Regions from separate parts of the Homo sapiens genome. Here regions 1, 2, 3, 5, 6 and 7 are each linked to region 4. Evidence: promoter capture Hi-C in human tissues and cell types (Jung and others, 2019). All regions are on one chromosome and are shown on one strand. Each heading gives the region's core, a stretch centred on a gene start or on the middle of the fragment in contact. The rest is flanking DNA. Distances are from core to core; before and after follow the strand shown. Region 1 overlaps TRPM2 (transient receptor potential cation channel subfamily M member 2). Region 2 holds the start of TRPM2 (transient receptor potential cation channel subfamily M member 2). Region 3 overlaps POFUT2 (protein O-fucosyltransferase 2). Region 4 holds the start of UBE2G2 (ubiquitin conjugating enzyme E2 G2). Region 5 overlaps ADARB1 (adenosine deaminase RNA specific B1). Region 6 holds the start of POFUT2 (protein O-fucosyltransferase 2). Region 7 overlaps ADARB1 (adenosine deaminase RNA specific B1).

Region 1 (4,026 bases), core at 887-3,386, 420 kb before region 4:
GACAGGAGGTGGAGCTCGGACAGTCACACACACGATGGGGAGCGGCTGTAAATAGGGATGAAGCTTCGCTCGTTCACCCACCACCCACCTCCTGCTGTGAGCAGCCCAGATCCTCACAGGCCACAGACCATTACCAGTCCATGGCCCAGGGGGTGGGGGACCCCTGCTCTAGGGCAACAAAGCCCTCTCTGCCCTGCTCCTCACTTCCTTCTGAGCCCTTACTGCGAGTTGTTTTTTTTCTGAGACAGGGTCTCACTGTTGCCCAGGCTGGAGTATGTTGGTGCGATCCTCAGCCTTGACCTCCCGGGCTCAAGTGATCTTCCCATCTCAGCCTCCCAAGTAGCTGGGACTACAGGTGTGCACCACCATGCCCGGCTAATTTTTTCATTTTTGTAGACATGAGATCCGCTATGTCGTCCAGGCTGGTCTCGAACTCCAGGGCTCAGGTGATCCTCCCGCCTTGGCCTCCCAAAGTGCTGGGATTCCAGGCGTGAGCCACCGCGCCCGTCTCCGCAAGGCCTTTAATACCACATTCCCACCAACATTCTCTTCAAGGACGTTGAGACGTTTTCCATTCATGGTGCTTCTAAATCCTCCCGTCGTCTCCCCATTGCCGGTTTCAATGCCACTTCCACATTTTTAGGTGTTTGTTGCAGCAGCAGCCCACTTCCTCACCCCAGACCTGTATCCGTTTCCTGTGGCTGCCGTAACAAATGGCCTCAAGCCTGAAACAGCAGCATTGTGGTCTCTCACGTGTCTGGAGGACAGAACTCTGAAGTCAGGGTCACACGTCTGTTTCCCCGCCTCCTCCACTCCTGGGGGGTCCGGCTTTCTCCACTTGTGGCTATGTCACTTGCCCCTGCCTCTGTGGTCCCTCGGCCTCCTCTCCTGTGTGTGTCCCCCACCACCTCTCTCCTGTAAGGACACCTGTGATGGTATTTTGGGCCCACTCGGATCATCCAAGTTAATCTCATGTTTCGATCACATGTGCAAAGTCGCTTTCTCCAATAAGGCCACGTCCACAGATTCCAGGGACTGGGACCTGGTCTCTGTGAGGGCCGGTGTTCAGCCTGCTCGCGTTAGAGAGGCAGAGCTTTCCAGAAGCAGTGTCTGACGCTTCCTGGCCATCCCAGGGCAGCTTCCCCGCCGAGTACATACTGGATGAGGATGGCCAAGGGAACCTGACCTGCCTAGACAGCAACCACTCTCACTTCATCCTCGTGGACGACGGGACCCACGGCCAGTACGGGGTGGAGATTCCTCTGAGGACCAGGCTGGAGAAGTTCATATCGGAGCAGACCAAGGAAAGAGGAGGTAGGGGAGCTTGCTTTCGAGGGTGATTGGGCAGAGAGCACAGTGGGCTGGTCAGAGTGTCAGGTACAGCTGGTCACGACCAGGACGTTCAACAGGCCTGGCGTTTGGCAGAGAGTGCAGTGGGCTGGTCAGAGTGTCAGGTACAGCTGGTCACAGGTCATTCGTGGCACTCGGCAGAGAGCGCGGTGAGCTGGTCAGACTGTCAGGTACAGCTGGTCACAACCAGGATGTTCATGGTACTCGGAACGTCCTCAGAACACACCTGGGTTTCTTTCCCGTGTCTCTTTATACTTTGTTCCAGGAGGGTCATCTTCTCTTGCCCATTTTAGCCAGTGGGAGGGCGGTCTGGGGGGCTGGCAGCTCACCTGTGTGCTCGCAGGTAATGGGCCAACCTACATTTTTTTTGGGACAGGGTCTGGAGCGCAGTGGTGTGATCTCAGCTCACTGTAGCCTCGAACTTCTGGGCTCAAGGGATCCTCCCATCACCCTCCCAAAGTGCTGGGATTACAAGCTTGAACCACTGTGCCTGGCCCTACAATTATTTTAAACCTTGATCATGGTCTGCTCTCAGGTTCAGAAATCAGAATGTACGATAGTCAAAACTTAGGATTTGATACCTTTTTCCTCATAGGTGGGATGGGATGGGTTTGAGGACGTCGGGAGGTCAAGTGCGGGGTTTTGCATATCACTTGAGGAGGGTTCAAAGAGGAGATGGTGAACGGGAGGTGTCTGACCTGTGGCTGGGTGGGCTGGGGTCCCTTGCAGGGTTCCTTGTGCATCGAACTCCCCTGGAGGGTTCCTCACCAGCTTGTGGGCCCCAGCCCCAGGGTCCAACTCAGCAGCTCCAGGTGGGCTGAGAACTTGCATTAGGAGCACGTTCCCTGGTGAGGGCGATGCTGCAGTTCAGGGACCAGGGACCACACTTTGAGAACCCTGCTTGACTAGTAGGAGCACGTTCCCTGGTGAGGACGATGCTGCAGTTCAGGGACCAGGGACCACACTTTGAGAACCTGCTTGACTAGTAGGAGCACGTTCCCTGGTGAGGGCGATGCTGCAGTTCAGGGACCACACTTTGAGAACCTGCTTGACTAGGACATCTGGGGTGGGATGTGTGGGTGAGTGTGTGAAGACGATGGGCCCATGGGGGGCTCACAGACAGAGTTTGCTGCCTGGGGAAAGGGGTTGCCAAGTCCTTCTCAGGCTCCACTGCTGTTGGGCTGGATGAAGTTCAGGGTGGGGCTGGGCGGATGGACACAGGATGGACGTGCCGCATGCTGCTCGCATCCACGCGTGGCAGGTTGTGCCACCTGCTTGGGGCCTCAGCTCTGATTGTCCATAGCCCCTCTCCCTCCCTCCCAAGAAAGCAGGCAGGGGTGGATGGGAAGCAAGCGAGCGGGGAAGTGTGGGTGGCGGGGGGCTCTTGAGTCTGCTCATTGATGTGGAACAGGCAGGTCCCCTGGGAATGTGGAGCTTTGACTTTAAACGGCGACTCAGCACTGGCAAGAGGCCTCCCAGCAGGTGCTTCAGTGTGTGGTTAGGCTGGAGCCAGCAGGGGGCAGGGGAGAGTGCCCTCAGTGCAGGGTCTTGCCCCCCACCTCTGTCCCCTCACTCGGCTCCATGCTTTGTTCAGGTGTGGCCCTCACTCGGCTCCGTGCTTTGTTTAGGTGTGGCCCTCACTCGGCTGTGTGCTTTTTCTAGGTGTGGCCATCAAGATCCCCATCGTGTGCGTGGTGCTGGAGGGCGGCCCGGGCACGTTGCACGTGAGTATGGCCAGGTGGGAGGGGGCATGTGTGGGCCCGTCCTGCTGCAGGCAGATGACTGTCCAAAAGTGCTTGTCTCAGAACTCAAGACTGTTGGCAAGAGGGCGATGAGCTTTCCCACCAGAAGAAGAGAAAGAGCATCTACGCTGTGTCGGGGCTGCTTCTGGGTGGGTGGAGGACGGGTCGGAGGAAGGTGCCTGGAGGAGGAGGCTGGGCTTGGCTATGACTGGGCCATTGACCGGCGTGGAAGGAAAGGGTGGGGCCCCAGGGCCTGGAGTGAGTGGGGCGCCTCTGCTCCCAGGACCTGCTGGGGAGGCTGGGGGGTTTCTACAACTCTGCCCCCAAGATTCCTCCAGGAAGCATTTTTCAAAGTACAGGGCTGTGGCCCCCATCCCAGATCCGTGGTGCCAGCAGCTGTGTGACTGCAGATTTGGCAGGCAGCTTGAATGCGCTGCTCTGCCGGCCTTCCTTCCCGACCCTAACCCTAACTGCTTTGTGGCGTGCAGGGTGCGAGGTGACCTCACCTGCTGTAGGAATGTACGAGGACATATAGCCTGAGGATCTGGAGCAAGAGTATGGGCTTTTGTGAAGGATGGGATCACAGGCAATGTCCCGTTTATGTTTCATGATTGCAGGAGGTCAAAACAGAGCCTTGGGGGCTTGAGGCTGGATGGGAATCCATAGAGCACTGGGTCCTCACTCCCTATGCGTGCCGAGTACCCTTCACGGCTCTTCTGCTGGGGCGGCTGCACCCGCCTCCTTACCCCAGGCCGATGCTCATGCACACGGCAGAGTCCTTCCTGCCAGACAGCTTTGTGTCCAGTCCCTTCCCGAAGTCCAGCACACCCTGGAGCCCAGGTGCCCTCCTCATGGCTCTGCTCTTACTGTGGGCTTTTATGAGGTCGGTAACTCCAGGTCCATGCAGCGTCCCCTTTGCTGCGAGGCCCTCACG
Region 2 (3,751 bases), core at 179-2,678, 450 kb before region 4:
GCCCTGGAAAGACCCCACTGGCATGCGGCACAACATCTGCTCTGAGAACTGCAGGAAAAGGCCGGGCAGGGCACCCCTGCCATCCTGCCAGTGAAGTTTACGGGTCTCGGAATGAGTGTGGCCAAGGGGCAAAGGGGAGGAGGGAGAGGGGGAGGTGGGGTTGCCTGAGAGTGCCCGCCCCAGGACAGCAGCCCGTAGCTCAGCCCCAAGAGCCCGGCACCGAGCTTCGAGCTGCGTGGCCCCGAAGAGGGGCTCAGTCACCTAATGTGATGAGGGGACGGCAGAGCAAAGGCTTGTCTGACAGTGACCGTCGTGTGTAGTGGAGAGGACGTGGCCAGAGATCTGGTTTCAGGGCAGGGATGAGGGGGGATTCCAGTCAGATCTTTTGCATCCCAGCAACCCTCCCCTTGACACCTTTGGGGCAGTGGCAGGGGATGACCATGGATGACCTCATGAGAACACTGTGGGTGTCAGGGACTCAGGGAGGCCCCGCAGGGCTTGAACATGCTTATGTTTCTCATTTGTAAAGGGAGGGCAGTCATCCGGTGGCTTCTTGTGGCCTCGGTGATGAAGGCCACATCAGAGCCAGGGGGAAAGGATATGAGAGAAAAAGATTCATTTGAATTATTGTCTTTTTCCTGGAGTGGAGAGATGTGGTACTCCCCAAAACTTCCTTTCTAGGCTGGGCACAGTGGCTCACGCCTGTAAAACCAGCACTTTGGGAAGCGGAGGCTGGTGGATCGCCTGAGGTCAGGAGTTTGAGACCAACCTGACCAACATGGTGAAACCCTGTTGCTACTACATACAAAAAAAATTAGCAGGGTGTGGTGATTGGCGCCCATAATCCCAGCTACTGGGGAGGCTAAGGCAGGAGAATCACTTGAACCAGGGAGACCGAGGTTGCAGTGAGCCGAGACTGCGTCACTGAACTCCAGCCTGAGCGACAAAGTGGGACTCCGTCTCAAAAAACAAGAAGAAAAAGAAACTTCCTTTGTGGACAGTGAGGGCTATTTAAAAAAATTTTGGAATATGAAAGTAGTCACTGGTGTCTGGAAGCAGGAGCTGTGCAGAATTGTACAGTTGCGAAACCATGTCGCTGGCAGCTGGTGCTGGCGGTGGAGACTTCCCTGTGCGGTGCTCAGTGCAGCTGCACCCGTGGGGGAGGGAGCTCTTTCTCTGGCCCTGCAGTCACCTGAGGTTGTTACCATTATGAACGGCCGCTGGGACCCCCGCATGTGCATGTACTCCCCCAGAGTGTCCGGGGGCCCCAGCCAAGGGACACAGCTCAGGCAGCTGGGAACATGTGCAGGCTGATGAAGAGAACCGGATGAGGGCTTCACATGAGGAAGCATGTGGCCAGGTCCTCTCAGAACATCAGCCTCATCTTCCTGTCTCTGATCTATTTCAGCAACCACCCCATGTGTCTCTAGAACCCCAGTGTAGCGAGCTGGAGAGAGGACTGTCCTGAGGGCAGCAGGCCTGGTTGCAGCTGGCGTGGGGGTCTCAGAATGGAGCCCTCAGCCCTGAGGAAAGCTGGCTCGGAGCAGGAGGAGGGCTTTGAGGGGCTGCCCAGAAGGGTCACTGACCTGGGGATGGTCTCCAATCTCCGGCGCAGCAACAGCAGCCTCTTCAAGAGCTGGAGGCTACAGTGCCCCTTCGGCAACAATGACAAGGTAGGCTTTCTGCTGGTCAGCCTGCAGTTGGCACGTGGCCACGGAGGTCACCGTTGGGCAGGTCATAGCTTGAGGCTGTGACGACGGGGGTGGGAAAGGGTCTGCTGACCTTGGGGGCTCCTGCCCAACCATACCTTTGGGAGAACAGAACTGGGGAGGGTGATGCGTGTCTCGTCTTCTGTGGGTTGCATGACCATTTCCCATGGTTGGTCTGATTGGGAAATCACCGGGTTAACTCAAAAATGTTGCGCTAGAGTCCTGGAAATCTGTTACCCGTGCTTACCTTGTTGCATAATGATTTCACATCCTTTATCCGATTGGGAGGGCCTGGGCCTGGGCTAGCTTTCCCCAAAGCCCTGGATACAAAGACACAAGTATGTTGAAAGCACATGGCATCTTGCAGTCCCCTTGCCAGGCAGGCAGGAGGGTGGCTGCCCTTTTTCCGATGGTGCAAGATCCAGGTCCCCAGATCCCCAGCCTCCACGTTTTCCACCACACCATGTTGTTCCCAAGGAAGGTGGTGGTGCTGTAGAAACTGTAAAGTGCGCGCACATTCAAAATGGTCCCAAGAGGAAATGATTTCTTAGATTCATTCCTCCCTCCTGAATCCCCACCGGAGAGTCTTGGCAAGGTGCTTCTAATCTTTGGCTCAGGGTCGCGCAGGCTTCCTTCCTTCAAGCAAATAGTGTGAAAGCTCCTCAAGGAGCTCAGATGTGTCTCCAGGGGGCTGGGTGTGCTCTTTCGAATGTTGGAAGATCTCAGTGTGCTGTCTTTACCTTCAGCAAGAAAGCCTCAGTTCGTGGATTCCTGAAAACATCAAGAAGAAAGAATGCGTGTATTTTGTGGAAAGTTCCAAACTGTCTGATGCTGGGTAAGTGACGTGATTTGTGTGTAAGACCTCTGACTTCTTCCTTCCGATCCCACATGGAGTAGCTGATCAGGCCAAGACCCCTCAGGGCCTCAGTGAAGGGTCACTGGAGATACCTCTGTCTCCATACGAGGCTTAGAGTCCACAGAGCATTTCCACCTAACCCTTGCAAGCCTCCTGTCGGGGACAGTTGACCCTCATCCTGCCTCGCAGGTGCAGGGACCAAAGTGCAGAGTTTAGGTGACTTGTTCAGGGTCATAAGGGCACTGTCGCGCGGCGAGGCCCAGTGGTGTGAACACAGATGCATCCTCTAATCCTCTCATTTCCACACCTGCCCCCACCCCAAGAGAGAGAGTCCCAGGGTCCAGGAACTGGAAGGGCCTTAGGGAGAGTCCATGGCCAGAAGACTGCCCCCCTGCACAGCTTGCCAAAGCCAGAGGCCCGACTTGCCCCCAGGCCCCACAGAGCCCCCTTTGCCCCTCCTCCCCACAGAGCCCACGACTCAGGTGTGGCCAAGACCCCCGCCCAGGCAACATGGCCACTGTCTCTGAGTGGCTGGATATGGCCCTCCGGAGCCGATGGTGCTCCCCGCAGTTGGCGCCCCTTTAGGCACGGACAGAGTGTTGATTCATGTTTGTGTGCCCTCCCCGAGCAACACCCATTTCATGCTCTTCCACAAATGGGCCACACGCTTCCTCCTTTTACTCCATTGCCTGGTGAGCTCCTACTTATCCCTCAAGGCCTATTGCAGATGCTGCCTCTGCCGTGCAGCCTTCCGTGACTATACAACCTCTACCAGGAAGTGAGCTTCCCTCCTACCGCACCGTGTGTTTCTCTTTGATCCCAGCTGTCGTGCTGTAACTGTGTGGCTTTGTGTTCATCTTTCTTGCTAGCTGCTGAGCTTCTGGGGGGCTGGGACGAAAGCAGAGTGTTGTGTTAATTCCCAGAGAGTGGCCTTCAGCTCATATTTACTGAATATGGGGAGGGAGAAGCATCCTGTGCTTGGGAAATAGAAGAAGACTGTGTTGCCCCAGGGTACCTCTAGTGTACTCGGTACATCATCAGAGTTTCACGGTCACCAATACAACAGCTGTCCCTCCGCATCCCTGGGGAATTGTTCCCGGACACCCACGGACACCAAAATCCCATATCTCGTATCAGTCCCAAAATCTCATATCAAGTCACTGATATGAGATGGTGTGGTATTTGC
Region 3 (3,985 bases), core at 483-2,982, 470 kb after region 4:
GTCCGGGAGGTGAGGGGCGCCTCTGCCCGGCCGCCCCTACTGGGAAGCAAAGAGCCCCTCTGCCCGGCCAGCCGCCCCGTCTGGGAGGGAGGTGGGGGGGTCAGCCCCCCGCCTGGCCAGCCGCCCCGTCCGGGAGGTGAGGGGCGCCTCTGCCCGGCCGCCCCTACTGGGAAGTGAAGAGCCCCTCTGCCCGGCCAGCCGCCCCGTCTGGGAGGGAGGTGGGGGGGTCAGCCCCCCGCCCGGCCAGCCGCCCCGTCCGGGAGGTGAGGGGCGCCTCTGCCCGGCCGCCCCTACTGGGAAGTGAAGAGCCCCTCTGCCCGGCCACCACCCCGTCTGGGAGGGGTACCCAACAGCTCATTGAGAACAGGCCAGGATGACAATGGCGGCTTTGTGGAATAGAAAGGCGGGAAAGGTGGGGAAAAGATTGAGAAATCGGATGGTTGCCGTGTCTGTGTAGAAAGAAGTAGACATGGGAGACTTTTCATTTTGTTCTGCACTAAGAAAAATTCTTCTGCCTTGGGATCCTGTTGATCTGTGACCTTACCCCCAACCCTGTGCTCTCTGAAACATGTGCTGTGTCCACTCAGGGTTAAATGGATTAAGGGCGGTACAAGATGTGCTTTGTTAAACAGACGCTTGAAGGCAGCATGCTCGTTAAGAGTCATCACCAATCCCTAATCTCAAGTAATCAGGGACACAAACACTGCGGAAGGCCGCAGGGTCCTCTGCCTAGGAAAACCAGAGACCTTTGTTCACTTGTTTATCTGCTGACCTTCCCTCCACTATTGTTCCATGACCCTGCCAAAATCCCCGTCTGTGAGAAACACCCAAGAATTATCAATAAAAAAAATAAATTAAAAGAAAGGAAAGAAACGAAAGCATTGAAGCTCCATACCCTTTCTGACGGCATCTGTGGCCACAAACACCTTGTCCAGCCGGTGGGTCTTCATGAGGCTGCGGATCTTCCTCACGGCCCCTTCCAGACTGGGTACATCCTGTCTGTGACCCCAGATGAAATCTTTTCTTCTCAGGTGGACTCCCAGGTAGGGGCCCCCTAGCGCGGAGCCCAGCTTGACCTAGCAAAGAACCACAAGGAAATGCAGAAGCTGACAGGCGGGCTCGGGGCTCATCCTGGGCACCGGGTGGGACTCGAGACGCAGAGGGATGACCCTTTCCATGTGGCCTCCTCCACGGGGTGGCTCCAGGGCTGTCTAAGGGATTCAGGTGGAATCTCGGGGGCGACCAGATGTCTTTCTAAGAAGACAGTGAAGCAGTATTAATTACCAGAAATCATTTTATCTGAGGTAAAGAAAAATATTTAAAAAGAGAACAGCATGTGGAGGCTCACGCTGTGAACTTTTCCTCCGAGAACCACCGCAGGGACGTGCCACAAAGAGTTCACGGATCCTGTGGACAAAGCAGCTCACAGCTGCAAACTCCCCGGGAGCCAGAATGCTCTGCTGCCCTCTTGACAGTGCCACCTCCTGGCTGGAGGCCACCAACGCAAATGGCTACAGCAAATTCTAACCAACAACCCTGCTCCAAGGAAGGAGAAAGCAACAGCTAATCCCACCACCTGCAACCTCCTGGCTGTCCACAGGTCCCGAGTCTGTCCACGTGACAACTTCACTGCAGCATAACCAGCATTCGAGAAAGCCAGTGCACTCAACAAAACTACAACCAAGGACCCCCCCAGAGTCCACTTCACTCCCCCGCCACCTCCAGCAGAGCAGGTGCTGGAACCCATGGCTGGGAGACCCGAAGACGGATCACAGCACAGGACTCTCCGCAGACATTCCCCAGCAGCATCCCAGGGCCTGGTAGCCCCACTGGGTGGCTAGACCCAGAAGAGCAATAACAATCACTGCAGCCCAGCTCTCAGGGAGCCCCATCCCTAGGGGAAGGCGAAGAGCGCCACAGAGCACCCCGTGGGATAAAAGAATCTGAACAGTAGCCCGTGAGTTCCAGATCTTTCCACTGAAGTAGTCTGCCCAAATGAGAAGCAGGCAGAAAAGCAATTGTGATAATATGACAAAACAAGGTTCTATAGTACCCCCAAAAGATCATAGTAGCTCCCCAGCAATGGATCCAAACCAGGAAGAAATCTCTCAATTGCCAGATAAAGAATTCCGAAGGTTCATTATTAAGCTACTCAAGGACATACCAGACAAAGGTGAAAACCAACTTAAAGAAATTAAAAAAAAAACAACAACAACAATATGGATGAAAAATGCTCCAGATAACTAGGTATCTTAAAGGAAAAACAATTGCAACTTCTGGAAATGAAAGACACACTTAAAGAAACGAAATACACTGGAAAGTTTCAATAATAGACTAGAACAGGAGAAGAAAGAGCTTCAGAGCTCGAAGACAAGGTTTTCAAATTAGCCCAATCCAACAAACAAGAAAAAAGAATAGTAAAAAAAATGAACAAAGCCTCCAAGAAATTTGGAATTATGTTAAACAACCAAACCTAAGGATAATTGGTGTTCCTGAGGAAGAAGAGTAATCTAAAAGTTTGGAAAACTTATTTGAGGGAATAATTGAGGAAAACTTACCTGGTCTTGCTAGAGATCTAGACATCCAAATACAGGAAGCTCAAAGAATACCTGGGCAATTCATCACAAAAAGATCATCTCCTAGGCACACAGTCATCAGGTTATCTAAAGTCAAGATGAAGGAAAGAATCTTAAGAGCTGTGAGCCAAAAGCACCAGGTAACCTATAAAGGAAAACCTATCAGATTCACAGCAGATTTCTCAGCAGAAACCTACAAGCTACAAGGGACTGGGGTCCTATCTTCAGCCTCCACAAACAAAGTAATTATCAGCCAAGAATTTTATATCCAGCAAAACTAAGCTTCATAAATGAAGGAGAGATCATCTTTTTCAGACAAACAAATGCTGAGAGAATTCACCACTCCCAAAGCCAGCTCTACAAGAAATGTTAAAGAAGTTCTAAATCTTGAAACAAAACCTCAAAATACGCCAAAATAGAACCTTCTTAAAGCATAAATCTCACAGGGCATATAAAACAACGCAATGAAAAAGAAAGAAAACAGAGTATTCAGGCAGCAACTAGTATGATGAATAGAATACAGTACCTCACACCTCAATACCAAAGTTGAATGTAAATGGCTTAGAGACTCCACTTAAGAGAAACAGAATGGCAGAATGGAAAAAAATCCACCTGAAAGCTGTGAGGCAAAAGTCTTCAAGAGACTGACCTAACACATAAGGACTCACACAAACTTAAGGTAAAGGGGTGGAAAAAGATACTCCATGCAAATGGACACCAAAAGCGAGTACAGTAGTATTCTTATATCAGACAAAACAGACTTTAAAGCAACAACAGTTAAAAAAGATGGAGGAACATTATATAATGATAAAAGGATCAGTCCAACGGGAGAATGCCACAATCCTAATTATACATGCACCTAACACTGGAGCTACCAAATTTATAAAACAATTACTACTAGACCTAAAAAATGAGATAGACAGCAATACAACATAAGTGGGGACTTCAATACTCCACTGACAGCACTGGACAGGTCATCAAGACAGAAAGCCAACAAAGAAACAATAGACTCAAACTATACCCTGGAACAAGTGGACTAAAATATTTACAGAACATTCTACGCAACAGCTGCAGAATATACATTCTGTTCGTAAGCATATGGAACGTTATCCAAGATAAACCATATGATTGGCCACAAAACAAGCCTCAATAAATTTAAGAAAATCAAAATTATGTCAAGTACCCTCTCAGACCACAGTGGAGTAAAACTGGAAATTAAATCCAAAAGGAACCCTCAAAACTATACAAACACATGGAAATTAAATAATCTGCTCCTGATCTTTGGGTCAACAATGAAATTAAGATGGAAATTTAAAAATTCTTTGAACTGAACAATAACACTGACATAACTTATCAAAACCCCTGGGACACAGCAAAAGTGGTGCCAAGAGGAAAATTCACAGCATTAA
Region 4 (3,867 bases), core at 606-3,105:
AGAGAGATGGGGAAACAGCCAGTCAGTGAAGCACACACAACATTTATTAGGACTACCATCTTTTATGGGCATAGTTTGTGATGCCCCAAAATAATTACAATAGTAACATCAAAGATTACTGATCATAGATCACAGTAATAGATTAAAATGTAAGAGAGAGACACGAAGCGAGCAAAAATGGTGCCAACAGACTTGCTTCCATGCAGGGTTGCTTGTAAAAAACTTGTAAACTTGTAAAAAATGCAAGATCTGCGAAGTGAAGCTCAATAAAGCAAAGCGCGCGGGAAACTGAGGTGTGCCTTTATGTTCTGCTTTAGCAGACACTAGGTGGCGAGCGTTATTTGAACGTTTACAGGAGGCCCTGTGTATCTGCGGCTGCATATCCATGGATTCGACCAACCAGGAATACAAAATATTTGAAAAAAATAACAATAAAAAATGACGATTTAAAAATACAAGTAAAAAAAATCAGTGTAACTATTTGTGCAGCACTTACATTGCATTAGGTACTATAAGTAACCTTGAGATGATTTAAAAGTTATGAGAGGCTATGCATACATTAAATGCAAATACCACGCCACCTTATAGTAGGGACTTGAGCATCCGAGGATTCTGGTATCTGCAGCGGGGCCTGGAACCAATCCCCTCCAGATACCAAGGGAAGAATGACCATACGTGAGTGAGCCTGTATTTGCAACGTTTTGGTCTGCTTAAGCCAAACATCAACTCTTACTGGGCGGTGTCACCAATAGTTTTACGAAATCAAGCTACATGTATATTCACCACTTATTTTTTTTCTCACATTCATTCTTTTAGCTTAACTTTCTTCCAAAATTATCCTCAATCTAATTACAAAAGCAGCAGCTAACTTTATTAAGGGTTACACATCAGGTATTTTGCTAAGCACTTCACCTGCAGTATCAAGTTTAACCTTTTAAGACAAGGAAACTGCAGAGACAGAGAGAGGAACAAGGTCAAAGAGCTAACAAGCAGAGAGGCCGGGTCTGAACTCAGGCCCTGCTCTTAGCCGGCTACTATCTCGTCTCCATCGGCGACTCAGGCTCCTGGCGCTTTCAACACAATGGTATTCCAAGACTTCTCGCAGCAGTTCTTCCAAGCGGGCATTCGGTGTAAAACGATGGAATGCCGAGTGTTCCTAGGTTCTCATTTCTCCCTTCGCTCTCCTCAGACATTAGAAATATCTAATTTACCGGGTAGGAAAGCACTCAAGAGGTTTCCTCAACACTACCTAGGAGGAGTGACAGGTGGCACTGTTCAAAAACCCTTTTCCTTCATTAGAGGGAAAGCCAAAATCTGACCTTTCAAAGCTCCACCAACGAGCCTTTCCCCTTTTAACGCATACACTTTTCCCTCCTAATTCCGCAGCAGCAAGTCAGGCCTTCTTCCTCAAGCTCTCACTGCACGTTCTCAAGGCTGCCAAGAAAAGAAAAAATAGAAGAGAAAAAAACAAGCCCGCAAAGACTCAACTGTGTGTGCTCTCAACTAACACGGCGCCGGCGCTGCCTTTACTGATGCTGGGAAGGCTTCTCTTCACGACTTCACGCGTGAGAGTGGGCAGCGGGCGCAGGGCGCGGCACTCCGCGGGACCCACAGGGGGGCTCACGGTGGAGGCCCCGGGCCCGGCTCCCCCGCCAGGCTCCCTGCCCCAGCCCCGCCGGACGACGCGGGCCCGGGAGCAGGAACGCGGGACGCTGCTGACGGCCCGGGTCCCCAGACTCACGTTTGTACTCGGCCATCAGCCTCTTGAGCGCGGTCCCCGCCATGGCCCCGCAACAGCTGCGCCGAGCGACCTCGCCTCAGCCGCGCGCGTGCCTCCTGCCCCGACACCGGGGACTGCTTCCGGGCCACCGTCGCGGGCCCAGGAACTCTTCCGGGGCGTGGCGCGTGCGCGATCGCCGAGGCGCGCTGTCCGGGTGGTGGGAGCTCAACCCGCGACCGCGGCTACGATTCTCTTGGCTCCTGCCCTCGCCTTAGTCGCTCTGCGGGGTTGGTTCGGTCCCGGCACTTCCAGAGGCCTCAGGGTCCTGGTCTTGTAGAGACTTCCTGAACGGTGGCGCCTGTTCCAGTGTGTGTGCGCTAACTGCCTGTTCTGTGCCAGCCGCGCGTGGCCGAAGGGCGGGAGGACGGGGGTTGTGGAGGGGAGGATGGAGGTTGGGGAGACAGGGCGGGGACGAGATAAGAGGTCGGGGGGTGGGGAGGATGGTCGCGGGGCGGTCTGGGGCTGGAGACAAGGGGCCTGAGGTGCGGGTACGCACTGAACATTCCAACCGTCCCCAGCCGGCCGGGTTTCAGGTTTGAAAAGGTGGGAAGGTTAGCTGTCCTGGCGCTTTTCCTCCACGTGTTGTGCGGCTCCGCTGGAGTTCGGGTCCAGCACCTTCTACTCCGAGGGAGAGAGCCGCGGGGAGAGCCCTGTTCGGGCCCGCGGCTCGAACTGACCGCCGGCTCTGCCGAGCAGCCTCGACCCCAGGGCACCCCCGGGAGAGAGGGCGCGGCTCAGGTCCCTGCCCGAACCCCTGGGGTGCTGAGAGACTCCCCAGCGCCCCGCGTGGGCTCCCGGCCTCTCCACAGTTGAGGATCCTGTAAGGGGCGAGCCCTTTTTCCCATAATGGCTGTAGTGAGTGGGTGTGCTTTCCCGATTGACCCGCTGTGAGGTGAGCGATTTTAACCCACATCCTTACTGACTTCACAGCACAGTAGGTGCTTCGTGGCTGTCCGGTGCAAGGATGTATATACACACACACCTTTGCAAAAAAAGTTTGCATCTCTTGCCTGGCTGTTTGTTGCAATAATCTATCATTTGTCTTTTCCTTTCCAGCATTGCAGATGATCCCTTGAAAAGAAGTCTGATCACATTCACACTCTGCTCCGCCCATTTCACTCAGTAAAGCTGAAGTCCTGCAGTGCTTTGCTCTGCCTCCGGTCACCCCGCCATACTCCCAGACCCTCCCTCCCTCTCACTCCACTCCAGCTGCCCTGGCCTGGTTCAGAGTCCCTGACTCTTCCCTCCCCGGAAACACTTTCTGGCGGCTCTTGTCCCCGACTCTTCCCACCTGCTCTTTCAGTCTTTGCTCAAATGTTGCCTCTTCAGTGTGGCCTAGGCCGTCACCACCCGGCCTTCACCGCATACCTTTTTCTCTGCAACACCTACTCAACACACCGTACTATAGAACTTACTGGCATGCTATAAATGTATTACCCTTATCTGTTGCCTCTAACCAAAAGCGTGTTCCATGAGAGCCATGGGTCCCTGCCTACTTCTGTCTTGTTTCTGGGGCAGCCTCTGTACCTGGACATCGTATACTCTTAACACGGATTTGTCAAATCAAATGAAATTTAACAATACAAACTTCACAAGTATGCATAGTGTAGGAAAATTCCCCAAAATTCAAAATTTCAGTCTACCTCCATCTTTTCAAATGACCACAGTGCTTTATAAAATGACATGGTCCTTTGAGACTGTTTCAGAGAGTAATTTGTGCAAATGCAATGTGCAAAAAGTCACAGTGGAGGTGTTTCCTCCCCCATTCAAGAGCTGCTCTCTCTCTAATCAGACAGCACCCCACACCCCAAGGCAGTCTGTCCAGTGCTCCTAAAGGAGAGCAGCTCCCCTTTTCCAGTTATGGGAGATGTGGGCAATAAAGCATTACTGTCAATGCCGTGATGTTCACTGCAACATATGCTTGATGTTTTCATAATTTTATCCATCTTTTTCAGACATCTTACTGCAGAACACTGTATGTTTTCCAATTATTATTTTTCAGAAATGTGGTTTACAGCTTCTATCAGGATTAGCTTCAGCTTCAAGTGACAAAAGTCACTTGAAATATGAGTTGCTGAAACAAGATG
Region 5 (4,021 bases), core at 175-2,674, 300 kb after region 4:
GGGAGGGGACCACTCCAGCCTGGGTGACAGAGCGAGACTCTGTCTCAAAAAAATAAAAAATAAAAATTTACAATTTATGTTAAAATATGTCATTTTAAGTTATGTAAATCCAAGCATAATTACTGAACACAAGGCTCAATCCAAAACATGCACAGTAAGCCCGTGTGAAGTGTTCACATGCTGTTCTGAGGCTGGCTGGATCTGGAGTTTCTGGGAGTGCTCTCTTGGGCTGGCACGTCTTGGGCTGTGGGGGCCCTGAAGCCCTCCTAGATGCTGGACATTGGTGTGTGTGCAACTTGGTGGTGGTGTTGGGGTTACTTTCCAGAAGCTACTCAAGGCTTAGTCTCAGTTTCTATCTAAAGATATTTATATGGGAAGTATTCCAAATGTGGATTTATAAAGATAACACATGGATAGAAATAGTGTAAAACTTGTGTGAACTGAACCAGCCAAGCTTCTAGTCTTCCCTTTCCAAAACTTTCCTTTTTCTCCCCCCGTGTTAAAGATTTAAAAATATATGTTTAAAAAGGTCACTTTTAACTTGTAAAAATTATTCAACATATACAGAAATTTAAAAAGCAGCATTGCAGGTTATGTGAGATTATGTATGTCTGCTCTTTGGAACTAGGTTGAAATGATAGCTACAAGGTTCTTTGGAAGAATGGGGATGTGTGGGTGAGAGTGGAGTAGACAGGCTGGGCTTACTAACTAGGCTTGCACTGGCCCCCGTCAGTCACTGTTCCCAAGTCAAATACTGCATTGCACTGAACACCAGAGCAGCAGTGCATTTCCTAGAGAACTCTGCAAGGCTACAGGTGGCAGACTTAGGGAGCGCTTGCCATCCCTGCCCTTCCCAGCTCTACCCAGAACAAGGAGGCCTCGCACACTACCTGGTCATATTTTGACTTCATGCATTTAATGAACCAAACTAAAGGTAAATATTTTCTTTTGATTCCCAAGGCAGACTTGTGGGTACCCAAGTTCCTCAGCCCATCTTTAACTCAGTAGGATGTGGCATCTCCATTGAGGCTCTTCATGGAATCCCTGGAGGTGAAACCTCGGTGTCCGGTTGCTCCAAACCAGTGCTGGTGGGATTCAGTTTTCTGGACCCATTTCTGGGTGAAGTCAAGGAATGGAGGCGGGCGGCTGTCAAGCGTCTCTGTTGCTCAATGGGGCAGGCCAGTCCCAGCGGCGACTTAGAGGTGGCTGGCTGGGCGTCCCTACAGGAGAATGGGCCACAGGGCCAGCGGGGCCAGCAGGATGAGCAGGCCTGGTTTGGGGTATGGGCCGCAGGCGTGGAGCTCGATGCTGGGCAGGGGCCTGCTCACTGACGAGTTGCCACCCGGGATTGGGGTAGGGGTGGGCGCGGTGGTCTCGGGCTCTGAGCGGCTCTGCACCGGCAGGAGCAGGACTGGCAGCAGCAGCAGCAGCGCCAGTGCGGATCGGGCCGCCATGGCCAAGCGCTCCGGCTCGTCCCGTAGCAGTGCCGCGGCGGCGGCCGCTGCCGGGAGTGTCTGTTCCGCGGTTACGCGGGGTCCTCTCCGGTCCTGTCCAGTGAGGTCCTGACAGCTGTACCCTGGCCCAACCCCTGCCCACGGCTGTTAACGATCAGCCTCGGGGAGCAGGTGTGCCGCCACGCGCGCCGTAGCGCTCCGGAGCTGGCTCTGCGCTCACGTGCTCGCTGTGCCCTGCGCGCGGGCGGGCCGTGTCCCCGCAGCCCCGCGCCTGGCGCTGCCAAGCTGCCCAGCGGGCTTTAGCAGGTGCTGAAATGCCCGCTGCCAGTCGCCGAGTGCTGGGTGCAGAGGATCTCTCCAGACACCTAGGCTCCCTTCTTTCGCGGCACGTGGGAAAAACTCCTGAAGTGCGTGCACAGAGTTTTTGTTTTAGAGGCTTTGACGTTATGATTAAGTATACCTGTGATGTAACGAAAACCTTTTTTAATGCTTCTCAAAAGATTTGCTAGCGTTTAACATTTACCTCCTGTACTGGAGTTTAAAGGAAGCGTTGCTTCTTAAGTAATCAGTGATCCTTTTGCTTTTGGAAATTGTAATGAACTTCACCATCGTAGAGCTTTAATATTTCTTTCCTGAAGCAGAAAGCATGTGAAATTTTCTGGATAGTGTATACTTAATACACAAGCTTTTGGAGTTTTTGAATGCTGGGTATGTTAGCACACCAGTCTTGCTGACTATTACGTGGGAGATGAGTGCTGCTTAAAATTGTGTAAGGGGTCAGTAGTTACAGTGGTGGACATACTTTTGCCAGACATGGTTTATTTTAAAGTGAACATATTTTGTGCTTATTTATTTATTTGGGACAGGGTCTCACTCTGTTACTCAGGCTGGAGTGCAGTGGTAATCATGGTTCACTGCAGCCTCAACTTCCAGGCTCAAGTGATCCTCCCACCTCAGCCTCCTGAGTAGCTGGGACTGTGGGGCTACAGGCGCACTACCACACCCAGCTAACTTTTTTTATTTTTTGTAGAGACGGAGTCTTGCTGTGTTGCCCAGGCTAGACTTGAACTCCTGGCGTCAAGCGATCCTCCCTCTTCGGCCTCCCAAGTTGCTGGGATTACAGATGTGAGCCACCATGCCTGGCCAATGTGCTTATTTTAATTCTAAATCAGAATTTCTATAATTATCTTCCTTACCTTGGTGTCTGTCTGTTATCAGCACAAGGGTTTAAAATAATTTTTGATTTCTTGGAAGTAATTACGCAGGCAGTTCAATGGGAGAAGGCACTTTCCTCAGCACATTTGGGGTGCTGTTGTCAGAAAGAAGGGGATGGATTCAAGTCAGCAAAACCAGCTGTAACCACAACTATATTTTTTAAACATGTAGCTGCATGTTCCATAAAACAGCATATAAAAAATAGAGTGAGCATTCTTTATTGGAGAAATAGCTGATTCTAGGACTGGGCAGGAAATAACACAAGTGCCAGGAATGCCAAGGAAATGGCAAGGAAATGCCGAGAAACAAACATAACCACACCCACATCAATGGGTGGTGTCAAAGGGACCCAGGAGCCAACTGAAAGAGCTCCCAGTGGCCAAAGCTGGAACAGTTTCTACAACAAAACAAAGTAGTATTGGATTATAGCCCAGAGATAAATAAATATCCATGAGTCCAGACTGACATAAATAAATGACTGATAAATGAGGAGAAAAGACAAAGCTCCTTTTCCAGCACAATTCCAGATCATCTCTGCATCTGCTGTATCTGCTGTGTCTTCCAGGAGGTGGAGCACAACCCTTACCCCAAGGCAAGGGCTGTGCAGAGCAACTTCCTTCCAGAGAGGACAGCATGGAAGTGGGGCGGGGGGCTCAACCCAGCAGGGGCCAGGTCAGCCTCACAGTGGTCAGTCACGGTGACAGGGTGTGCCTGATACAGTGGAGTGACAGTGGGCCTTCACCTCTGGGGGCTTCATCCCCAAACTCAGTCCCTTCCTGTACCATGAGAAAAACATCAGACAGATCCCAGCTGAGGGACAGCTTCCTCAACAGTCAAAAACCAAGAAGAGTCTGAGAAACTCACAGCCAAGAGGGGCCTAGGGAGCCATGACATCTCAATGTCACGTGGGATCCTGGACGACTGAATCTGACGAAAGTGTGGATTTCAGTTAATAACAATGTGTTAATTAATACTGGTCCGTTAAACCAGCAGTCCTCAACCTTTTTGGCACCAGGGACTGGTGACAATTTTTCCATGGGCCGAGGTGGGGGCTGGGAGAATGGTTTGGGGATGATTCCAGCGCGTTACATTTATTGTGCATTTTCTTTCCATGATTACATTGTAATATATAATGAAATAATCATACAACTCAGCATCATGTAGAATCAGTGGGAGCCCTGAGCTTGTTTTCCTGCAACTAGATGGTCCCATCGGGGGTAAGGGGAGACAGTGGCAGATCATCAGACATTGGATTCTTATAAGGAATGTGCAACCTAGACCCCTCACATGCGCAGTTCACAATAGGGTTCCAGTCCTGTGAGAATCTAATGCTGCCACTGATCTGACAGAAT
Region 6 (3,963 bases), core at 1,029-3,528, 490 kb after region 4:
GAAATGACTGCCTGGCCCCAGTTAAGCAACCACGGCCTCCCAGCGTGCCGCTCGGCCTCACCTGCGATGAACTGCTCATACTCGATGACGGGGATGTTTTTATTGAGACTTGGAAGATCAAAAAACTCAGACCAGGGAATCCGGACCTGGTGGATGTCAGGACTCTGCCAGTGATAGAGGCGGCCCCATGGAGGCAGGACAAGCACCCACTCCTCCGTCTTCAGCAGAGTCTTCAGGAGAGAGGCGATTCGGATATAGACATCCCTGCGCAGGTTGAAGCCTTCCGGGGGGTTGACGTCATACAGAAGATACCTGAGCAGGGAGAAGGAGGACCACAGGTCTCAAATGCTGAGGTTTCTGCACGGAAAACCCGACTGCTCACAAGTCTCAGCGCGTGGCCCGACTCTAGGCACTTAACAATGGTTCCTAGTTTGTGAAGGCAGTGAGTGGCCTGTTTCTCTATGACCAGTTACTTACGGAGCCTGTAAGCAGAAGCAGCAGACATGCTAACATCGTTTTAACAATTAGCAATAGTTCAACACTAAGGCAGAGGAATCCCAGTGACTGGAACCCAAGAATCAGTACCCACATGGTTCTCAAACTGTTTGGTTTAAAGACCCCTTTACACTGGAAACAATGACTGACGGCTGGTTATGTGCACTATGTCTATTGATACGTCCTATGTTAGACGTTAAAGCTACAAGTATTTAATTCAGCTAAAAATAAGAAGCCATTACATGTTAACAAAAACCACATATTTAAATAAAAAATAAGTGTATTTTAAAAAATGAATTAGAAGAACTGTGATGATGTTCTTAATTTTTGCAAATCTCTTTTGGGTTTGGTGACAGCTGGATTCCCATACCCGTTTCTGCATTCAATCTGTTGTGACATCACAGATCAAGTGGTTTCTAGGAAAACTCCACAGTGCATTCATGAGAAGTGAAAAAGGCGTATAATACTCTGGTACTACTATTAAAACGGCTACAAAAGCTCAGAGATCCAGGACACACTTTAAGATCACTGCCCTAGAGGAAGGACACAAAGCGCCCCAAGGCACAGACAAGTCCCCAAGGCACAGACAAGTCCCCAAGGGCTACAGAAACCCTGTCCCTGGCGCTCTCCTTTCCCTGCTCTGCGCTGGTTTTCCATACTCCCATCGTCGCGAGTGAAGCTGCGTGCAGCGCCCAGGCCTGCGAACGCCACGAGGGGCCGTGCACACCTCTGCGTCCAGGCCCCTCCCGGGGTCCGCTTGGAGATCCCACAGCCACAGGGCGGCCGCGAAGCTCGTCTTGGCCCTGAGAATTCACTGCGGAGCGCCCGCCCGGCACTGACTCCCGGCTCCGCACACCCAGGCCTGGACCCGTGTCACTTGCAGGGGCCTCCGGAGCCAGCCCACGCTCAGCCTGAGCAACCCGGCCCCCTTCCTGGGCTCCCGAGGCTGCGCCCCGGGCCTCGCAGACGACCCCGCCTGCAGACCCGGGCCGCAGTGACGCAGCCTCGACTACAGCCAACCCGCTGGCCCGACCCTGCCCCCAGCCCCCGCCCCATCCCATCCCCCAGACTCCAGCCCGGCCCCGGCCCCTGCCCCTGCCCCTGCCCCTGTCCCGTCCCCGTCCCATCCTTCTTGGCCCCGGCTCCCGCCCCGCCCCCATCCCATCCCTCGGGCCCCCGTTCCTGCCCCCATCCCATCCCACCCCTCCTGGCCCTAGCCCCTGCCCCGCCCCCATCCCATCCCATCACCCTGGCCCCTGCCCCGCCCCCATCCCATCCCATCGCCCTGATCCCTGCCCCGCCCCCATCCCATCCCTCCTGGCCCCTGCCCCCTGCCCCTATACCATCACCCTGGCCCCTTACTCCGCCACATTCCTTGCCCCAGAACCCTGACCCCATCCCATTCCCCTGACCCCTGCCCCCTGACCCCGCTCCATCCCATCCCCCTGGCCCCTGCCCCATAACTCCGCTCCATTCCATCTCCCTGGCCCCGGACCACCCTCCATCCCGTGGGCCTGCCCCTGACCCCATCCCATCTCCCTGGCCCCTGACCCCGCCCCGCCCCCATCCCATCCTCTGACCCTGCCCGGTCCTGGAACCCCAGCGTTGGCACCGTGGACGCGCGTTTACCGTCTGCGGGAAGCCGCCCCCGACAGAATATCGGCCGCCGATTGTCCGGGCCAGAACTCCTGGCCGGAGGCAGAAGCCGGAGGCCAGGACACTGCCCCCAGCAGCAGGAAGACGAAGCTGAGTGTCGCCATGGCCCCGGGCGGCCACGCACTTCCGGCGGCCGCGCCCCGCCCCGGAACCACGCCCCGCCCCCGTGAAATGCGTTCCCAGTAGCCACGGCAACGCCCAGCTCCGCCCTCCCCGCGCATGCGTTATGCGCCATCACCGGCAAGCAGGGGCGGGAGGGGGAACTGCGCGTGCGCAGAGTCTCCGCCCTCCTGACCGCAGCGGCTAGAGGTTCCATTGCAGACCCGGAGGCCGTGGCTGTGGTTCGCGGCGGTGCTGTCGCGGGCGCCCTGGCGCAGCCCACGCAGGGGCTCCTGAGGGTCCGCGAGGCCGGGAGGTCCGGGGGTCGGGAGGTCCCGGGGTCGGGAAGTCGGTGGACCCTGCAGGCCAGTGGGGAGGGTACGCGAGACTGGGGGCCGGGAGGGCTGACGGCTGGTGGCGCGGGGCGGGTCCGTGGGGAGGAGGCCCGGGGCTGGTAGGGGCGGGAGGGCTGGACGGCGGGGGCGGGGCGGAGGAGGGGGTCCGTAGACGGGGTCGGCGCCGGGTGCTCTCGCCCCTCTGGAGCTGGGGTCGGGGCGGGAGCCGCGCATGAGAGCCTGGGTTTCTAGTCGGGGGGCGCCGTCGAGCTCCACACCTGCGGCCTCCTGGGTGCCCCCAACCCTGGAGCCCCGGCGAGGGGGCACCCGGGCTGAGGCCTGGCCCTCCAAGGAGCCCTGGAGGGACTGTGCTGCTAGGGCGCGGGGCTCGATGGGGTGATCTGGAGACCTGGGGGGATCCGGGGCTGCCGCCCCTGCGCTGCCAACCTCCCACCCCGCCCCTTCTGCGAGGCGTTATTAAAGGTCTGGTTTCGGGAGCCAGGTGCGTGCCCGCCGCCGCCGCTCCCCGCAGCCTCCAGGCAGCTCCCGCTGTTCCCCGAGGGCACCAGCACTGGCCGACCGACCTGGCTTGGGGCGCGGCGCTGGCAAACCCGGCCTTCTGAGGGGACGCCACGCTGACTCTAGTGCAGGCAGCCCCCAAAACGGTATAATTGGACGAATTTCTTGAAGGATGCCAGTTACCAAAAAAGAAAATACTAATGCTTATTATCTGTTAAATTTGAGATCAATTTGTTATCAAATTTTCTCACACAGAAAATTCCAGGCCCAGAGGGCCAAGCTGGTGAATCCTACTTAGAGAAGAAATAATAGGAATCCAGCCACTCAGACGATGGACGAGGAGGGGCACTTCCCTGCTCGATGTATGGGCCAGCATTGCCTTGATAGCAAAGTCAGACATCACCAGACAGTAGAACCACAGACCAATGTCTTTCATGAACCAAGACACAGCATTTAAAAAAATTAGCAAATGGAATTTATATCTGCCTATTGTTTACAAAAAAAGCCAAACTTTGTAAAATACTTGAAGAGATTTATTCTGAGCCAAATATGACCCATGACACAGCCTCAGGACGTCCTGAGAACTTGGCCCAAGGCGGTTGTTTTACTGCTTGGTTTTATTCATTTCAGGGAGACATAAGACATCAGTCAGTACATGTGAGGTGTGCATTGGATTGATCCAGAAAGTCAGGACGACTCCAAGTGGAAAGGCCTCCAGGTAATAGGTGGATTCAAAGATGTTTCTGATTGGCAGTTGGTTGAAAGAAGTTACTATCTGAAGGCTTGGAATCAATAGAAAGGAGTGTCTGGGTTAAGAGAAGGGGCTGTGGAGACCGAGGTCCTTATTATGTGGATGAAA
Region 7 (3,961 bases), core at 1,374-3,873, 320 kb after region 4:
TGAGTGCAGACTAAGTCCTTTGTGCAAGGTTGGGTCATCCTGGGGTGAAAAGGTAAGTGCTTTCGGGGATGCTGATTAAGGTGGTATCTGCTGTGCCTCTCTCAGTGTCCCCAGGGCGAAATTCCTCAGGTTACAGTGGCAGGAACAGCTGCTTGAGCTCATTTTTGTCTTCTGAACAGGATCAGTCTTGGAATTGGCCTTTTCTCCATCTTCAGCCCCAGGGTGGGGCTGGCCTGGGTAGGGCCTGCGCCTGTGCTTGCTGCGCAGCAGCACCCCTGCGTGCCTTCCCTTGCCTCGGCTGCTAAGTCTTTGGAGAAAACTCTACATTGCCAAGCTTCTTCTGAAAGATTTAATTTTTTATTTAGAAACAGTATGCTTATTACAGACTGTGCAGACTTTGCAGAAATGCAAAACTAGGAAGAGACATATTAGTCCCTTTGCATAGAAGCAACTTTTGTTATTATTTTGTATGTTTCCTTTGTATCTGTATTAGTGTGTTCTCATACTGCTAATAAAGACATACCAAAGACTGGGTGATTTATGAAGGAAAAAGGTTTAACAGACTCACAGTTCAGCATGACTGAGAAGGCCTCAGGAAACTTACAATCATGGTGGAAGGGGAAGCAAACACATCATTCTTCACATGGCAACAGCAAGGAGAAGTGTCCAGCAAAATGGGGAAAAGCCCCTTACAAAGCCGTCAGATCCCGTGAGAACTCACTCACTATCACGAAAACAGCATGAGGGTAACTGCCCCCATGATACAATTACCTCCCACTGGGTCCCTCCCACAGCACGTGGGGATTATGGGAACTACAATTGAAGATGAGATTTGAGTGGGGACATGGCCAAACAATATCTGTGTCTTTTTTCATGTATATGTTTTTTTTTTCTTTTCTCAGCATAATTGATATACTGTGGTTACTCTACCTATTTGTGTAGGCCTCTCAGGTCATTGAAACAAGATGTTGTACAAATTAGCAGATGACACTGGCGCATGGAGGAATGGTTTGTATTTTAATTTTCACTGTATAACATTTTAGTAAAGCTTTTACTGGAAATGTTTTCTACCCATATCCTCAGGAAACCATGTGAAGTAGACAGCCTTGCATTTCCTGGATTGCTCCCTCGAAGGATGAAGGGAGCAGTTCTATCAGATGCTCTTCCCAGCCTCCTTCTCCAGGGAGACCTAGCCGCTGCTGTTTTGAGTTTCCTGGGAGGACATCCCCCAAGGACTCTCTGGCTTGTCCTTGTGAAGTTGGTTTGCTTTTTGTGCCAGCTTTTTAGGCTTACAAAATGTTGTGTGTGTGTACATAGGAAAAATATGGAAGGGTACGTACCCACTAGTTTGTGTCAGCACTGGATTCTGGCATATATAATAGATGAGGAGTTTCTGTTATGTATATGGGATTTCTGAGATACACAGGGGTTTTCTGTGCACATCTCTCTATAACGCAGCTGTCCCGTCACATCCTGCATGTCAGTACAGGTAGTGCCGTTCTCTTCGTAGGACTGTGACACTTTATCTTTGTTCTTTCACAGTTAAAAAAAAAAAAGCTTCTTTAAAATTCTGACTTTATATAACTAACGCAATGCTCATGCTACTTCACTTGTTACAAGAACATATTATTCTGTCCTATAGATGTACTGCAGTTATTTAATGGATCAGCTATTGATAAGGGGGCCCTTTTAATGTAACTATTTTAAAAAATGGAAGTAATACCAGCACATGGTAAAAAACACATTGCAGCTCATGAATGGGTATAAATTAAGTTGGAGATTTCCTCTTTCTCCCTCCCCACCCCATGCCCCGTTTCCAGAGGTAAACAATGTACAGTTTGTGTTTTCTTCTCTTAAGTTCTTCTTGTAGTCACCATTATAGCTTTAACTTTTCTGTTTGTGAGTTCATGTGGAAGTCAACAGTGCCTTCACACTCTGAGTTTTGATGAGATTTATATTGACAAGGCTTAAAACATTTGTAGTGTTTCCCATCTATCATTAGGCTCCCTGTGCTTTTCCTGCAAGTGTAGTCTAAACATTTTAATATAAGAAAAGTAACATTTATAGTATTATGATAGTATATTTTGCCATAGAACCAAGTGGTATGAAATGTAATTCTGCCTCACCAAACCTTTGCCAATAAAAGGAGAATATTCAGATGGAACTCCCAGTTTCTCTTTAGGTGTCCGCTGTTTCTAGCTGCCTCAGTTGCCATGGTTTCTCCTATCCCATGGTGTTGGTTTCTTGGATTCTATTTTTGTTTTGCTGGAGCACCTCCTTAATCCACTTCCTTATAGAATGGATGGCTGACAGACTTCTTAATTCACTTCCTTATAGAATGGATGGCTGACAGACTTCTTAATTCACTTCCTTATAGAATGGATGGCTGACAGACTTCTTGGGTTTTTGCACGTAATGTTCAAACATGCAATTACTTTGTTCTCATACTTATTGATAATTTGGTAGGGTCTAGAATTCTAGGATCGTATAATTTTCCTTTTGAAATCAGAAAATATTCTCTATTATTTTCCAGAGTCTAGTGTTGGTAATGAGAAGTTGGATATCCGTTTGATCCTTGTTCTACTGCAGGTAAACATCTTCTACTCTCTCCTTCTCTCCCTCCCTGGGCTTCATGTCCTGACGGTTTGATTTTTCGTTACCCTAAACCCGGATCTGCTTCTCTTCCAGCCCGCGTGCCCATATTGGGATCACCCCTTAGAAAACCTCAGGCTTTCTTTGGAGAGCGATTCTCAGGTTTCAGCCCAGGAATAAAAGCGTTCCCTATGGCTCCTGCTTCTTGGGAAGACCCCTCACCTCTGTTGTCTTGCTCTGCAGTTTCCTCTGCTCTCTCGCATCAACCTGCTTTCGTCTGCCTTATGCCCTAAAAGCCCTGGCAGGCTTTCTTGTGTTCTGCTAAATCCCTCTGTAAATTTTTAGCACCGTGCACTATTATGGTTCATTCACCACCAAAAAGTACCTTTTCTGACATTTTAACAGAGCTCTGGGAAGAATGGAGAGAAGATATGGTGTACTTTATCACCATTTTTAATTAAAAGCCCTTTTAATTAATTAATTTAGAGGCAGGGTCTCGCTCTGTCACCCAGGGTGAAGTGCAGTAGTGTGATCGTGGCTCACTGCAGCCTCCACCTTCTGGGCTCAAGCAATACTCCTGTTATCAGCCTCTTGAGTAGCTTGGACCACAGTCACGTGCCACATTGACTGATTAATTTTTAAATTTTTTGTAGAGGTGGGGTCTTGCCGTGTTGCCCAGACTGGTCTCGAACTCCTAGGCTCAAGCCATCCTCCCACCTTGGCCTCCCAAAGTGCTGAGCACACCACTGTGCCTAGCCTAAAAGCCTTTTTAGATCACTCTCAGTGGCAAAATTAGTGCCTTGGTCACCTTTACCAGTAGCTGTTCTTGCTCTCCAGTGGAAATATCACTCAACATTATCAAAGAATCGGGATGAAATTAAATGAACCAGTTTAGGTACTTTTGATACAGAAGTTCTTATGAGACGTGTTGTTCTTTACTATGTAAGAGTGTGGCCATAAACTTAAAAATAGCTGGGTAACTTTGTTACACTTGCCTTGATGGTGTGTTGCAAGTTAGTTAAATTTCATATACTCTTAATCAGCACATCACCAACAAATAAAATGTTACTGCTGCATCAGAATTTAGAGGAGGTTCTATACATCTGTTTCGAAATAAAGACGGAGATGACTTAGGGTACTTATAAGTTGTTGAAAAATCATGGCTCCTGAAACTATGAATTGTCATCGTGGTATATACCCAGACAGCCCACATTAAACTGCTGTGAACATGAGAAAATGGACATCGAAATGATAAAAGCAAGAGTGTTGGTAATTGAAATCCATTATAAATAAAGCTGTCATTGGTAACGCACGAAATGCTGTTTCTGAGGATGAGGACTTTGTGGCCCCCACGTGGGCGCATTACCAA

The links. The method cuts DNA at HindIII sites, captures the fragments that hold promoters and counts their contacts. A contact is called where the count stands out against the background at its distance.
Region 1: a fragment that was not itself captured here is called in contact with the fragment with the promoter of UBE2G2 in region 4 in 4 of the 25 tissues and cell types used here (heart right ventricle, lymphoblastoid cells, mesendoderm cells and 1 more).
Region 2: the fragment with the promoter of TRPM2 here is called in contact with the fragment with the promoter of UBE2G2 in region 4 in 5 of the 25 tissues and cell types used here (H1 embryonic stem cells, IMR-90 fibroblasts, dorsolateral prefrontal cortex and 2 more).
Region 3: a fragment that was not itself captured here is called in contact with the fragment with the promoter of UBE2G2 in region 4 in 1 of the 25 tissues and cell types used here (lymphoblastoid cells).
Region 5: a contact is called between a fragment that was not itself captured here and the fragment with the promoter of UBE2G2 in region 4, in 2 of the 25 tissues and cell types used here (IMR-90 fibroblasts and lymphoblastoid cells).
Region 6: a contact is called between the fragment with the promoter of POFUT2 here and the fragment with the promoter of UBE2G2 in region 4, in 3 of the 25 tissues and cell types used here (dorsolateral prefrontal cortex, liver and lymphoblastoid cells).
Region 7: a fragment that was not itself captured here is called in contact with the fragment with the promoter of UBE2G2 in region 4 in 3 of the 25 tissues and cell types used here (IMR-90 fibroblasts, lymphoblastoid cells and spleen).

The regions. Positions count from the first base shown.
Region 1 is chr21:44,374,700-44,378,725 of GRCh38, forward strand. TRPM2 (transient receptor potential cation channel subfamily M member 2) reads left to right here. Exons shown (of 32, transcript NM_003307.4): 6 at 1,134-1,314; 7 at 3,013-3,074. Among named protein-coding and RNA genes, the nearest start is that of TRPM2, 23 kb to the left of the region's middle. RefSeq lists enhancers at 2,631-3,130, 3,131-3,632. The HindIII fragment of the contact is 6,690 bases long and covers 1-4,026 here.
Region 2 is chr21:44,352,193-44,355,943 of GRCh38, forward strand. It overlaps TRPM2 (transient receptor potential cation channel subfamily M member 2), which reads left to right and starts at 1,429. Exons shown (of 32, transcript NM_003307.4): 1 at 1,429-1,673; 2 at 2,456-2,544. The coding sequence starts at 1,509. RefSeq lists enhancers at 1,645-1,694, 1,855-1,904. The HindIII fragment of the contact is 21,861 bases long and covers 1-3,751 here.
Region 3 is chr21:45,268,944-45,272,928 of GRCh38, forward strand. POFUT2 (protein O-fucosyltransferase 2) reads right to left here. Exons shown (of 9, transcript NM_133635.6): 7 at 896-1,076. Among named protein-coding and RNA genes, the nearest start is that of POFUT2, 17 kb to the right of the region's middle. The HindIII fragment of the contact is 5,405 bases long and covers 1-3,985 here.
Region 4 is chr21:44,799,965-44,803,831 of GRCh38, forward strand. It overlaps UBE2G2 (ubiquitin conjugating enzyme E2 G2), which reads right to left and starts at 1,856. Exons shown (of 6, transcript NM_003343.6): 1 at 1,742-1,856. The coding sequence starts at 1,784. LINC01424 (long intergenic non-protein coding RNA 1424) reads left to right here and starts at 2,277. Exons shown (of 2, transcript NR_109928.1): 1 at 2,277-2,672; 2 at 3,783-3,867. RefSeq lists an enhancer at 1,082-2,037 and silencers at 1,585-1,644, 1,705-1,924, 2,425-2,474. The HindIII fragment of the contact is 9,913 bases long and covers 1-3,867 here.
Region 5 is chr21:45,099,593-45,103,613 of GRCh38, forward strand. All of the region lies in intron 1 of ADARB1 (adenosine deaminase RNA specific B1), which reads left to right. Among named protein-coding and RNA genes, the nearest start is that of ADARB1, 27 kb to the left of the region's middle. The HindIII fragment of the contact is 4,715 bases long and covers 1-3,782 here.
Region 6 is chr21:45,285,617-45,289,579 of GRCh38, forward strand. It overlaps POFUT2 (protein O-fucosyltransferase 2), which reads right to left and starts at 2,279. Exons shown (of 9, transcript NM_133635.6): 1 at 2,125-2,279; 2 at 62-312. The coding sequence starts at 2,255. It overlaps LINC00205 (long intergenic non-protein coding RNA 205), which reads left to right and starts at 2,436. Exons shown (of 3, transcript NR_026943.1): 1 at 2,436-2,628; 2 at 3,735-3,822. RefSeq lists a silencer at 2,206-2,735 and an enhancer at 2,890-3,620. The HindIII fragment of the contact is 23,447 bases long and covers 1-3,963 here.
Region 7 is chr21:45,116,031-45,119,991 of GRCh38, forward strand. All of the region lies in intron 1 of ADARB1 (adenosine deaminase RNA specific B1), which reads left to right. Among named protein-coding and RNA genes, the nearest start is that of ADARB1, 43 kb to the left of the region's middle. The HindIII fragment of the contact is 3,865 bases long and covers 692-3,961 here.